3 separate regions of the Homo sapiens genome follow, and regions 1 and 3 are each linked to region 2. Evidence: promoter capture Hi-C in 16 types of primary human blood cells and fetal thymus (Javierre and others, 2016). All regions are on one chromosome and are shown on one strand. The core of a region is centred on a gene start or on the middle of the fragment in contact, and the rest is flanking DNA. Distances in the headings are between cores, read along the strand shown. Region 1 has its middle 110 kb from the start of SUNO1. Region 2 holds the start of KCTD15 (potassium channel tetramerization domain containing 15). Region 3 has its middle 84 kb from the start of SUNO1.

Region 1 (4,496 bases), core at 1,582-4,081, 220 kb before region 2:
CTCTTAATGATTTTCAAGTATACAATCCATTACTGTTAACTATAGTCACCATTTTTGCATTAACTCTCCAGGGGTTATTCGTCCTGTCTAGCTGAAACTTTGTACTCTTTGACTGACATGTCCTCATCCCCCTGCCCCACCCCACCCCGGGAACCACCATTCTATCCTCTGCTTTTATGAGTTCCACATGTATAAGTGGGATCATGTAGTGTTTGCCTTTCTGTGCCTGGCTTATTTCACTTGGCATAATGTCCTCCAGGTTATCCACAATGTTGCAAATGGCATGATTTTTTTCCTTTTAAAGGCTGAATAGAATTTCATTGTATGTATACACACACACACACACACACACACACCCGCATTTTCTTTATCCATTTATCTTTTGAGGGACACTTAGATTGATTCCATATCTCGGCTTTTGTGAATAATGCTGCAGTAAACATGGCAGTGTGTGATATCTCTTTGACATACGGATTTCATTTCCTTTGGATATATACCCAGTAGTAGGATAGCTGGATCATACAACAACTCTTATTTTAAGTTTTTGAGGACTGTCCATCCTGTTTTCCGTCATGTCTGTACTAATTTACATTCCTACCAACAGTGTGCAAGAGTTTCCTTTCTCCACGTCCTCACCAACACTCATTATCTTTTGTCTTTTGATAGCAGCCATTCTAGCAGATGTTAAGGTGATATCTCGTTGTGCTTTTAATTTGCACTTCCCTGACGATTAGTTGTGTTGAGCATTTTTCATACACTTGTTGGCCATTGTATGTCTTCTTCTGAGAAATATCTATTCAGATCCTTTGCCCATTTTTTAATCAGGTTATTTGTTTTATTGCTTTTGAGTTATTTGAGTTCCTTATATAGCGTGGATATCAACTCCTTATCAGATGTGTGGTTTGCAAATATTTTCTCCTCATTTGTAGGATGTTGCTTCACTCTTTGACTATTTCCTCTTCTGTGCAGAAGTGTTTAGTTTGATGTCATCTTGTTTGTCTATTTTTTGCTTTTGTTGCCTTTGTTTTGGGGATCATATCCAGGAAATCATTGCCCACACCAACGTCAAGGATATTTCTCCCTATGTTTCTTCTAGTAGTGTTACAGTTTCAGGTCTATGTTTAAATCTTTAGTCCATTTTGAGTTGATTTTTGTAATTGTGTGAGATGAGGGTTCAGTTTTATTCTTCTGCATGTAGATATTCAGTTTTCTAGCACCATTTGTTGAAGAGACTGCCCTTTCTCCATTATGTGTTCTTGGTATCTTTGTCAAAAATCCATTGACCATAAATGTGTAAGTTTACTTCTGGGCTCTCTATTCTGTTCCTCTGTGTCTGTGTGTCTGTTTTTATGCCACTACCATGCTGTTTTAATTACTGTAGCTTTGTAGTATATTTTGAAGTCAGGTAGTGTTCTTGCTCTAGCTCTGTTCTTTTTACCTCAAGATTGCTTTGTCTATTTGGGGTCTTTTGCAGTTCTATATGAATTTTAATATTTTTTTCTCTTTGAAAATTGCCAGTGGAATTTTGATAGGAATTGCACTGAATCTGTAGACAGCTTTGGTATTATGGACATTGTAACAATATTAATTGTTCCAATTATTGAACATAGGATATCTTTTCACTTGCTTGTTTCCTCTTCAATTTCTTTAATCAATGTTTTATCATTTTCAGTGTACAGATGTTTCACCTCCCTGGTTAAACTTATTCTTAAGAATCTTATGTTTTTTGGCCGGGCACAGTGGCTCACGCTTGTAATCCTAGCACTTTGGGAGACTGCGGCAGTGGATCACCTGAGGTCAGGAGTTTGACACCAGCCTGGCCAACATGGTGAAACCCCGTCTCTACTAAAAATATAAAAATTAGCTGGGCATGGTGGCTCATGCCTGTAATCCCAGCTACTCAGGAGGCTGAGGCAGGAGAATTGCTTGAACTCGGGAGGCAGAGGTTTTGGTGAGCCGAGATTGTGCCACTGTACTCCAGCCTGGACGACAGAGCAAGACTCCATCTCAAAAAAAAAAAAAAAAAAAAAGAATCTTATGTTTTTATTGCTATTATAAATGGGATCATTTCTTGATTTCTTTTTGGATAGTTTGATGTTAGTGTATATAAATACTACTGATTGTTCTGTGTTTATTTTGTATCCCACAACCTCACTGAATTCATTTATTAGCCCTAAACATGTTTTGGTGGAGTCTTTAGAATTTTCTGTATGCAACCTCTTCAAACAGAGCCAGTTTTTCTTCTTCCTTTCTTATTTGAATGCCTTTATTAAATTGAATTGGCATCATTGTCTTATTCCAGATCTTAGAAGAAAACCTTTTAGCTTTTCGCCATCGAGTATGTTGTTAGCTGTGGGCTTGGCACATATGGCTTTTATCATGTTGAGGTATATTCCTTCTTCACCTAATCTGTTAAGAGTTTTTAATTATGAAGTGATGTTGAATTTTGCCAGATGCTTTTTCTGCATCTTTTGAGATAATCATGTGATTTCATCCTTTATTCTGTTAATGTGTATATTACATTTATTGATTTGCATATATTCTTCTACTTGACCAAGTCTGCTGTTGAAACTCTATATGAAATTTTTCAGTTCAGTCATGTGTTCTTTAGGCCCAGAATTTCTTACTGGTTCTTTTCTATGGCTTCTATTCTATTTGTTAAGCTTCTAAGTCTGTTTTTCTGATTTCGTTTAGTTATCTATCTGTATTATCTGCAGCTTACTGAGTTTCTTTAAGTGATTATTTTGAATTGTTTATCAGGCAGTTCATAGATCTCCATTTTTAAAGGATTGGTTACTGGTGCTTTATGTTGTTCCTTTGGTGGTGTTATGTTTCCCTGATTACTCATGCTCCTTGTGGCCTTGTGTTGGTGTCTGTGCATTTGAAGAAGTAGGCACCTCTTTCAGTCTTTATAGATTGGCACATCCAGAGAATGGAATATTATTCAGCACTAAAAAGAAATGAGCTACCAAGCCATGAATAGACCTGGAGGAAGCTTAAATGCATATTACTAAGTAAAATAAGCCAATCTGAAAAGGCTACATACTACATGATTCCAACTACATGACATTTTGAAAAGGGCAAAACTATGGAGACAGTAAACAAGTCAGTGGTTTCCAGGGGTTAGTAAGGACAGAAAGATGAATAGGCAGAGCACAGAGGATTTTTAGGGCAATGGAACTATTTAGTATAATACTACAATTGTGGATGTATGTCATTACACATTTGCCCAAATTTATAGAATGTACAAGATCAACAATGAACCCTAATGTAAACTATGGACTCCAGGCAACAATACTGTTTCAATGTGGGTTCGTCAGTTATAGCAAATGTACCACACTGGTAGGAGATGTTGACAATAGAGGAGGCTGTGTGTGTGTGGGGGTAGAGGGTATATAGGAAATCTCTGTACCTTCCTCTCAATTTTGCTATGAATGTAGAACTGTTCTAGAAAATAAAGTTTATTAAACATTATGTAATTTTGCTTGAATGTAATGTTCAAAATATAACAAAATGAAATGGTAGAAATTGTTGAACTTCAGGTAAATGTTTCTTGATTACAAGAGATAGTAGTTTAATTAGATTCCTCTAATCTAAGAAAAAGATGGTGGCCCAATTTCCTTTTTCCAAACACCAAATTGTATTTTCCTGTGTGGGAAAAGGATTTTGTCTCACTTAGATTCACTCAGCAGTTCTACACTCAAAATCTAGAGGAAGTGAAAAGAAGGATTGGTTATTTCCATTTCTGACAATATGATAGACTAGATATCCCAAAACCTTTTTGTCACAAAGTGGCTATCTAAGGTTGCCTGGTAATTTCCCACCACCTGGAGTCTTGAGTTTTACCTGCGGGGTGCAAGGGCCTTGGCCTGTGAAAGTTGAAAGGTTTGAACAGTGTTGATCTAGAGACACATCTGTGCAGTTAAAAGAGATGATCCAGTAAGGAAATGTGGTTTTTTCAGCTTGGACCCTGGGCAGAATTAGAAAAAGAAACTTCCCCTGATAATTTAGAATTCAGACCAGCCTTCATAAGGTGTGACATTCTAATTTATGGCACTGGCACAGTACATAACCCTCAAGCCAAGAAATTAATGTAAAGTGGTCCTGGATTGGGAATATCTTCAGGTACCTAAAAGAAGCAAATGCAGATCTTCTCTGGAGGAATGCACTCCCAAGCCAGGCCTCATGAAATCCCCACAGAAAAGTCCTGATGAACATAAGCTGATATTGAAAAATCAAGAAAAACACAAGCAAACATGCCATTGCAAATGAAAATTAGCAGAAACAACAAAGAGTAGAAATTAGTTCCCTAAAGACTTCAGATACTATAAATTTTAAGACATAGAATATAAAATAAATGTGCTTTCATGTTGAAAGAAATAAAAAAAGAAAACAGAATTGTAAACTAAGAAAAAAAATCAGGTAGTTTTGAAAAATATTCAAATAGAACTTCTAAAAATGAAAAAAAAAACACATTGAAATAAGAACCTTATGGT
Region 2 (4,531 bases), core at 1,591-4,090:
ATCAGGAGATGGCCAGGTGGCCAGGAGGAAGCACAGAGCAAGCAGATCAGCCAATGGACCCTTTCTACTGCTCCTCCCCAGAGGCACTCAGTAACTCTCCTCTGTGCCGTAGTCACCTGAAATAAGATTGTCCCTCAGTCCCTGGAAGCCACACCCAGGGGCGCTTTGCAGGCCCTATGCAGGAGGGGCAGAATTCTGCAGCCCCGTTCACTGATTTACAGCTGTCTCAAAAGGGAGGAAAGAGGAGATTTGCACGTGAATAGTCACCCCCCTTCACACATCCACAGACACTGGCTTCCACAAACCTACCCTGGACGTCTCTCGAAGGTTTAACCTTTAAGAGAGAAACCACTTGAAATTCTTGGGACCCATGGGATTGCTTTTTCCCATTAAAACTCTGGGATCAAAATTTGTGCCTTGAAATTCAATATCCAATTTTAATCCAACCAGAATCAAATCCTGCAAATGTAAGCAAGGTTGCTCTCCCTGAGTGCCCGGGCAAGTTTCCTGACATAAAACTGGGGTGGGAGGTTGCAATGGGCAGACAGTGATGTTTAATATATACCCTCACTGGGGCCTGTGGACTCAGAATCCACTGCTTTTGGCATTCCTGAGTTCTACAAGCTTAAAAAAACAAAACCAGGTCACTTAGCTCAAGGAGTTCTGAGAACCAAAACAGACCTCAGGAATGGATTATCCTGCCCTAGGAGGCTCTGCTGGGGGAGGAGTCAGAAGGGAAGACGCGCTGAGGATAAACTGAACAGGAAGGAATTCTGGCTGAAATTCTATCAAAGCGGACTGCAAGATGTTTTCCCCAATACCAGGACACTATTCCAAAGTGACGTGAACACCAAGCCTCCATCACAGAAGCCGCTCCACTCTGTTCTTAGCCCCTTTTCCCTCCCAAGAACAACCTGATGTTCATGGCAAGCCAGAAACTTACCGTTGGAAGCCCCAGGCTTTACGCCTTGCCGTGAATCTCCAAGGTTTCTCCCAACAAGCGCATCCGTGCGGGACCACGACCCTCTTTCCGAGACCACTGCTTAAGTCAGAAGCACAAAAGTGGGTGCAGTGAGAGATACAAGTTCATTCCACCAGCACCAGCATCAAACCCAGCACCCAGCCCCAGTGCGCCCTGGCCCGCCTGTTGCAGGGGCCTCAGCGATAGCGGTCGGGAGGGCCCACAGGTTTCCAAACTGGCCCGGTAGTGACCCGCTTCTCCAGCTGCGGCGGGAGACCCGGGTCCCTGCCCGCCCGCCGCCGAGCCCCGCCCGCCCGAGCAGAGAGAAGTGAGCAGAATGCCACGCTCATTTACACACAAAATGATTTTGTGTCCCATTGCGCTCGCAGTTGTTCGGCTCTCTGGGGGTGATTAAACTGGCTGAGCTGCGGCAGCTTGAGACGATTTCACTAAATCGCTTCTTCTGAAGTCGCTTCTTTGCTAAGCTGTTATTTTAACCATAAAAGGTAAACAGAAGGCGCCTCTCGAGCTCCCCTCGGCTCCGCACTCAGGGCGCTGGCCCGGGGCGAAAGTCCTGGGGGCCTGCACAATTGTCCCAGGGGTGGCCCCGGAGAGGCAGGCGGGCCACCTGGTGCGCGCCAGCCTCCCCACCCCCCCCCTCCCGCCTCCGCCGCGGAGCCAGCCGGCCGGTGTGAACTTAGGGGCGACGGGAGAGGGCTTGGGCCAAGGCTGGAGGCGCCGCGGGGCGGGGTGGCCGCGGCACCCGAAGCGCGGGGCTGGGCTGGGAGGGGTTGCCGCGGAGGCGGGGCGGGGACAAAGTTAAATCAAGAGGCAGACACTTGGAGACCACAGATGGGAAGCTCGCCTAATTAAGGACGTAAAAGCGCTTTTGTTCTCAAAGTTTATTGTTGCCGGGATTAAAAAAAAATTAATTGAAACTAATGCTGTTATTCACTCGTGCAGTTAAATTCCTTCATGCACATTTGAGATACGGAGCGAAAACTTGAAGCTTATCTTTCTGCAGTCGCGGGTGGGGGCCGCCGGAAGACAGAAAGGCGCTGCAGAGGCGGGGGTCCGCCCCCGGGTGTGTTTGCGAGTGTGTGCCGGGTGCGCGCGTCCAGGTCAGGGGGTGCGGGCGGGCAGCGGGGAACCGGATCTGCAGGCGGCGATCCCTCCCATCGCGGCCCCTCTCCCAGCCCCAAACCCTGCGCGCCCGGGACCACCACCAGCGCGACAGCCCCTCCTGCCAGGTTTCGGACTCGTGGGGTGGGCGTCAGAGGACGCACATCTGTCCCACTGGAGACTTTCTCTGATTTTGGGCGCCAAGCCGGGACTTGTGCATCCCGAAGCCCCAGTTGCGTGAGCCCGTTTCTGACCCCGGAAACTCGCCAGCTCTGCAGGGCGCTCGGCCCAGAACAGGGGCCAGAGTGCGGGGACCTCCACAAGCGCGCGCGCGCGCGCGCGCACACACACACACACACACACACACACACACACACACCGCGCGGCAGGAAGCTCCGAGACCGCCCGCGTGGGGAGGGTCCACCCGCGGCCAGGACCAGCCCACGTGGGCAACCCCACTCTTGCACCAGGCCTTTGTGCTGGGCACCCCCGCGCCGCCAGCCCCCGCCGCCCAGCAGAGGGACAAAGCGGCCGCCCCCGCCCAGGTCCAGACCCTGGCCGGGCGACTTTCTCGGTATCGCAGCCACTTCGGGGCAGGGTTGCGCGGCTCTGAGCGGTGGCCGCCCGCGCTGAGCTTACCTCGGAGCCGGCAGATCGGGCTCGGGCGCAGCCCCCGCCCCACGCAGCTGCCGGTCTCGGGCGCCGGGCGCAGCTTCGCCGCCTATGCTCGCTGCGCGGGTCGCTCCGGTCTCGTCCTGGAGTTACTTTCTCTCTCGCCCCCAACCCTCCCCCCACCCACCCCTCCCGCCCCGGCCCCCGCTTCACGCGGCCCCTCGCGGCGCGGCGCGCCGGGGCCTCCCCTCCCCACCCTCCCCTCGCCTCCTCCCCTCTTCGCGGCCGCCGCCTCCGCCGCCGCCGCCTCCTCCTCGCGCCGCTCTCCGGCTGCCCTCCCGCCGCTCCCACCTCCTCTCCTCCCTCCTCTCTCTCCGGCGGCCTCCCTCGATTGCTGGAGAGAAAACCAGCCCCCCACTCCAGCCCCTAGCCAGCGCCTCGCCGCGGCCCAGCCCGGACGTAAAGGGCAGCGATCCGGCCCCAAATTACCCAGCGCGAACGGGCGCGCGCGGCGACTCCTGGCTCGGGGCTCGGCTGCGCCGCGGGGCAGAGGATTAGAGTCGCAATTAGCTCCGCGCGCCCGCGCCTGGCGACAAAAACGCGCCGTTTCCCCTCCTTTCGCCGGGCGATCCCCACCCGCCTCTCCCGAAGCCCGCGCCTTCCCGCCGGGGCCGCGGCCAGGACCCTCCCGGGAGCGGTGCGCCCAGGCCCCAGCGCCCTCCGCGGCCCAGCCCCCCGCCCCCCGCCGGCCGGCCACGCGGCGCCCGGGCCTCCTCCGGGCTCGGGGAGGGGGCGGGGGAGAGGCTGATTTTAATCATTGTCATTTCATCTGATGTAATATTTCCCCGGGCGCTTTCAGCTGGGCATAAATTTTCGGCTCCCAAATAAGTAACACAGGGCACGTTTCTCACATTTCTTGACTCCTCGGTTACAAAGAGGAGAGCAGCCGCCGCCGCGGCGCCCGGGGCTGGGGGCGGGACTTGGGAAGAAACTGGGCTGCCAGTCGGTCGGGGCTGGAGCGGAGCCGGGGGCCAGGCCGCCCCTCCCCCGCTCCCTGGCCGCCCTCCCAGGGTCTCTGCCCCGCTGCCCCTCTCCCGTGACGTCTGCGGACACGCGGTCGGCCGCCGCGGGGGAGGGACGCGCTGGGGCACCGGGCCGACCGCTCGCGGCTAGACGCGCCATTTCCTTTACGCGCGCGGCGCGATGGAGACGGCGGCAGCCAAGACTCCCCGCGGCCGAGGTCCGCGCCCCGGACGCCCCTCCCCAGTCTCCGCTTCGGCCGCCCCTTCCTCCTTTTCTCCCACTCCCACTCCTCCTCCCCTTCCTCTTCCTCCTGTTTCCTTTGCGCCCCGCCCGTGCCTCCTCCTCCTCCTCGGCGACCATTTCCCGGCTCCTAGGAAACGGAGCGCGCGACTGGCCGGCACTGCGCCCCCGCCTGGCTCCAGGGACGCCCGGGCCGGAGACCGGCTGGGACCGCGGGGCGGGTGCGCACGGGCCGGAACGGCGCCTGGGTCCCGACCGCCGGCTCCGGCCGGGCCTGGACGCCCCCTAGCGGCCGCACTCCCGGGGTGGGGGGCGCTCGGGGTCGGCCTGGAGCTGGGGTGAGGGGGACTCGGGGTGCCAGTGGGAGGAAGGTGAAGTGGGGGGGGCTTTCTCCCTCTACTAGAGGACCTCGCGCGCGTGGAGAGAGCGTCCAGACAGCGCTTCCGTAACTTCTTTACGCGGGAATCAGCCGAAACTTTCCTCCTAAGGGAAGGTTTTATTTATTTATTTATTTTCGAGTTCGAACTACAGGAAAAAGGGGGAAATTTTCTCATTAAAGTTACATCCCTGCAG
Region 3 (4,379 bases), core at 238-2,737, 190 kb before region 2:
GAATGTGCACAGTTCAGCTAAGGATTTGAGAGGAGTTTATATGCAAATTTAAGGACTCTTTATTTGGATTCTTTTTTTTTCCCCTGGGTTTTCTCCCCCTCAATTTTCAGCCTCTCTTGCTGTTCAGGCTTTCTGTTTCATTTTTAGCTTCTCTACCTCTTGCAGACTAGAGAGTGCCTTCAGGGAAAATTTAAGGACATTGATCTTACCTATTGCAGTTGCCATTTGTATGTGTGCTTTGGGTCACTTTCTAATGCCTTCAGATAGTTTCTTTACATTTTGTCCAGAGTCTATAATTATTATCTATAGAAGTATTAGTTTGATAAAATGTAGTCTTTCATTATTGAAACCACCATATCACAGCCACTGTGTTTAACTATTTCTAGTATAAGGTTGTTAAGTTCATTGCCATACTCTAAATACTACTCTTATGCTTATACTTCTGGATGTCTCAACTTAAAAACTATAGTAGCTTTTTGCTATGTTGAATTGAAATTTGGATGAAATTTAACTCAATCTATGTCTTTCACCTTCTCTGGCTCACTCATACCAATATGATTACATTATTATGTTTGAATATTTTAATTGCTACCTTTATAAGGTTATTAATAAGGTTAAGTAACCTTATTAAACCTTTACTTTTTATTTTATCAATAGTATCTTGATTGTCCACATAATAAATTGAGAATATTAGCACTCCTAACCTTCTTCTTCCTTCTGCATTTTTTTGCCTTCCCAGCCCCCAACTTCTGTGAGCTGTGCCTTTATTTTATTTTATTTTATCTTATTTTTTTGAGACAGAATCTCACTCTGTTGCCCAGGCTTGAGTGCAGTGGCATGATCTTGGCTCACTGCAACCTCTGCTTCCTGAGTTCAAGTGATTCTTGTGCCTCAGCCTCCCGAGTAGCTGGAACTATGGGTGTGCACCTCCATGCCTGGCTAATTTTTGTACTTTTAGTAGAGACGGGGTTTCACCATGTTGCCCAGGCTGGTCTTGAACTCCTGCCCTCAGGTGATCCGCCCACCTTGGACTCCAAAGTGCTGGGATTACATGTGTGAGCCACCTTGCCTGGCCTATGCTTTTACCTTTACATTGCCAAGTGTAATGACGTTTACTTTCTGTCACACAAACCCAAATATTCCTTAAGTGACTTGCCTACAACTTTATTCAACATTTATTAATTCAACAAATATTTATTCAGTTCCTACCCTGAGCAAGTCCCTGCCCCTGGTGGTGGAGAAACCACAATAAACATAAGAGTAGAAAATCTCTGTCCTCATGGAACCTACTTTCTAATGTGGGAGATAAAAAACAAGATGAAGAAGCAAAATATGTAGTATGCTGGCTGTGCTTAGAAAAACATTAAGCTATAAGGTGTATAGGGAATATGTGTGTGTGTCACAATTTAGATAGAATAGTCAGAAAAGCTCTCTCTAAAAGGTGATATTTGAGGAAAACCCTGAAGGAGGTAAGGGAATAAGCCATGAGAATATCTGGGGAGAGTCCCAGGCAGCAAGTAAATGCCCTGGCCTCACTCTTTTCTCTCTCTAATCATCTGCCGGGGCTCCCCATTGGCTGAATCCAACCAGAAGGCACACAGCAAGGAAGCTGGTTAATATGTCTGTCTATACGGTCAGCCTCCTGGAACAAGGATAATGGTGGGAAGGGATGAAGAGAAGATGGGAGGAGCAGCAAATGGAAGATATGTGGCATACCCTTCCTCCTGACATCCCAGGGAAATGATGGTAAAAGAATAGAAAAGATTCACTCTCACACTTCGATAACAGGAGAGGGATCACAGGTGGGCCACTGAAGTACATGTATGTTATAAACAGTATTGTTTGCTCCAGAGCCAAGAAGAATCGATGACTACATTCTTCCCAGCTATCTTAATATTCCCACTTCTGTGCTACTCACAGAAGAATGTCCAAAAGAATTTGTTCTTACACCTGATTAATTGCTCACATTCATGACATATTTTCTACATTATGTTTAGATGACACCTTTCTTGTATAATTTCCCCCATCCCCTTTGCTGGTCACCCTTCTTTGCTCTTGATGAGGGAAGAAACGTGTTTTTTTCATTGTATCACTAATAACTTCCAGGTTTTTTTCCTATTACCAATAAATTCCATATAATTTATTGTATTCTAACTCCACTGACTTCTGCTCAAATCTGTCCTGATTTCATAATATTTTGTTATGACTTTATTACGCATCTGTTAGGTTTTCCTAGAGACTCTAGCTGTCTTTTTTTTTTTCTTGCCTTGCATTCTATGCATTTTTCACATTCTCGACCGTTACAAAGCCTAGTCATAGGCTCCCATGGAATTCACTCACTTTTTCCCTTGGACATCTCCCATCTGAAGCCTGTTGTTTTGATGCTCCAGGCAGGGATGGTGGCTCCTCTGGCTGCCATACAACTGACATTTGGATTCCTTCCTGCTCTCCAAGTTCCTTGTCTTCTTCCATGTCAGCTAGACCTTTCTGAGGCAAGACTAAATCCTTAAGTAACTTCCCCAGAAGAGGTATGTGGGAGAGAAACTTTCCGAGTATTGGCATGTCTGAAAACTACCTTTATTTTTACCTTGAACTTGGTGGATAATTTGGCTGGGTATAGAATTCTGGGTATAAAATAAATTCCTTCAGAAATCTGAAAGTCACACCGCATTGTCCTCTAGCATCTAGTATTGCTCACAGGAAAAGTAACCTGACTCTGATTCTTTTATTTTGCATAGCTGACTTCTTCTTTCAGAAGTCTTTTCTTGGTATTCTGAAATTTTACAATGGTGAATTCAGGTTGGGCCTTCTACATTCAGCTTGCCCCCCTTTGTTGAGAGCTCCTGTTACCTTGAAGATTGATGTTATGCCCATCTGCCAAGGGCAGAATTATTACCTGGCTGCTGGCCTTTTTAGCATTTGGAATTGAGGAGGCATACGGCAGGGTTGATTATTCAGAATACAGACCCTTTAATTATTTCCCCTATTGCCAGCCCCACTGCTCACTTTTTGGTTGTCAAGCTTGACACTTCTGAAACTAGAACTTCTCATGGGCAGTTTCCTACTCTCAGACACAGACCCCCCCGACCTGTGTTCAAGCTGTGGCTTTCTCTGCCTTCCCTCTCCAGCTAATTCACATCTGTCTATACCTTTCAACTAAATCTTTGGGGAAACTCAGTGACCCACCAGTGATCCCTCTCCTGTTCTCATAGTGTGAGAGTGAATCTTTTCTGTTCTTTTACCATCACTTCCCCTGGGTGTCAGGAGGAAGGGTATGCCAGGTGTCTTCCATTTGCCAGTCCTCCCATCTCATCTTCATCCTTTCCCACCGTTATCTTTGTTTGAAGAGGCTGACCATATAGACACATTAACCAGCTTCCTTCCCTTTGCCTTCTGGTTGGATTCAGCCAATGGGGAGTCCCAGCAGAAGGTCAGAAAGAGGAAAAAGTGAGGCCAGGGCATTTATGCCTTCAACAACCTCCCTGTGAGGTTGTCTCAGGCTGGCTGAGTCCCTTACTAAGGGCCACAGCTTTTTCATGGTGGCCTCTTGACACAGCCTTCTGGCTTGAGATGGCAGGAGCCTCACCTTTCCAAGCCAGTCACGGCAAAGGACCCCTGCTTTTTCTGGCCCCGGGGTACTGCCCATGCTTTGTGTTTCTCCATACCCTGCCCACATGTTTGTAAGTAATCCCTTTATTAAACTCTCCTTGAGCGATTCAATTTGAGTATCTTTCTATTTCCTGTTGGGTCTCTGGCTAAGGCAAAGAGAACATAAATCATAACTGCCTGGTCCACTATATTGGGCCCAGGAATCTTAGGTAGTTCTTAAAGCACATGGTTTTTTTTCATGTAGACTGTTTGTGTCTTTTGCAGCTCATGTGAAACTTTTAGGTCCTAATCCTCTATTGCCACTCTGCTTCACCGTTATTTAGGGGATCTTGGAGTTTCCCTACAATTTCACAATATTTGTGAGCTTAGAGGCCTTTAGAGAGCAAGGTTCCCAATATGAGATGCTGTAGTTAGCCCTGAGTTAGACCTGAATTATCCAGGCATACTCATACTGTGAGCAGCAGCAAATCCATACAGGTCTGTAGCAACTTGATTCTTGCCTCCTTGAAGGAAAGAATTCATTTGAGGGGCATAAAGCAGAGTGAGAGACTCAGCAATTAAAAGACACAGGCATTCTGCCAAAGAGACATGTGCTCGTATGTTCATCCCTGTGCTATTCACAATAGCAAAGACATGAATCAATGCAGATGCCCATCAATGGTGGATTGGATAAAGAAAATATGGCATCCATACACCATGGAATCCCATGCAGCCCGGAAAAAGGACAAAATTATGTCCTTTGCAGCAACATGGATGCACCTGGAGGCCAT

Evidence for each region. Contacts are between HindIII fragments. The CHiCAGO score rates a contact against its expected background, and 5 or more counts as called.
Region 1: a contact is called between a fragment that was not itself captured here and the fragment with the promoter of KCTD15 in region 2, in 2 of 17 cell types (endothelial precursors and M2 macrophages). The highest score is 6.2, in endothelial precursors.
Region 3: a contact is called between a fragment that was not itself captured here and the fragment with the promoter of KCTD15 in region 2, in 3 of 17 cell types (endothelial precursors, M2 macrophages and M0 macrophages). The highest score is 6.4, in endothelial precursors.

The regions. Positions count from the first base shown.
Region 1 is chr19:34,011,062-34,015,557 of GRCh38, reverse strand. No RefSeq gene overlaps it. Among named protein-coding and RNA genes, the nearest start is that of SUNO1, 110 kb to the right of the region's middle. The HindIII fragment of the contact is 332 bases long and covers 2,666-2,997 here.
Region 2 is chr19:33,795,179-33,799,709 of GRCh38, reverse strand. It overlaps KCTD15 (potassium channel tetramerization domain containing 15), which reads right to left and starts at 2,840. Exons shown (of 7, transcript NM_001129994.2): 1 at 2,723-2,840; 2 at 944-1,042. RefSeq lists a silencer at 4,142-4,261. The HindIII fragment of the contact is 5,196 bases long and covers 1,973-4,531 here.
Region 3 is chr19:33,986,734-33,991,112 of GRCh38, reverse strand. No RefSeq gene overlaps it. Among named protein-coding and RNA genes, the nearest start is that of SUNO1, 84 kb to the right of the region's middle. The HindIII fragment of the contact is 3,072 bases long and covers 1-3,023 here.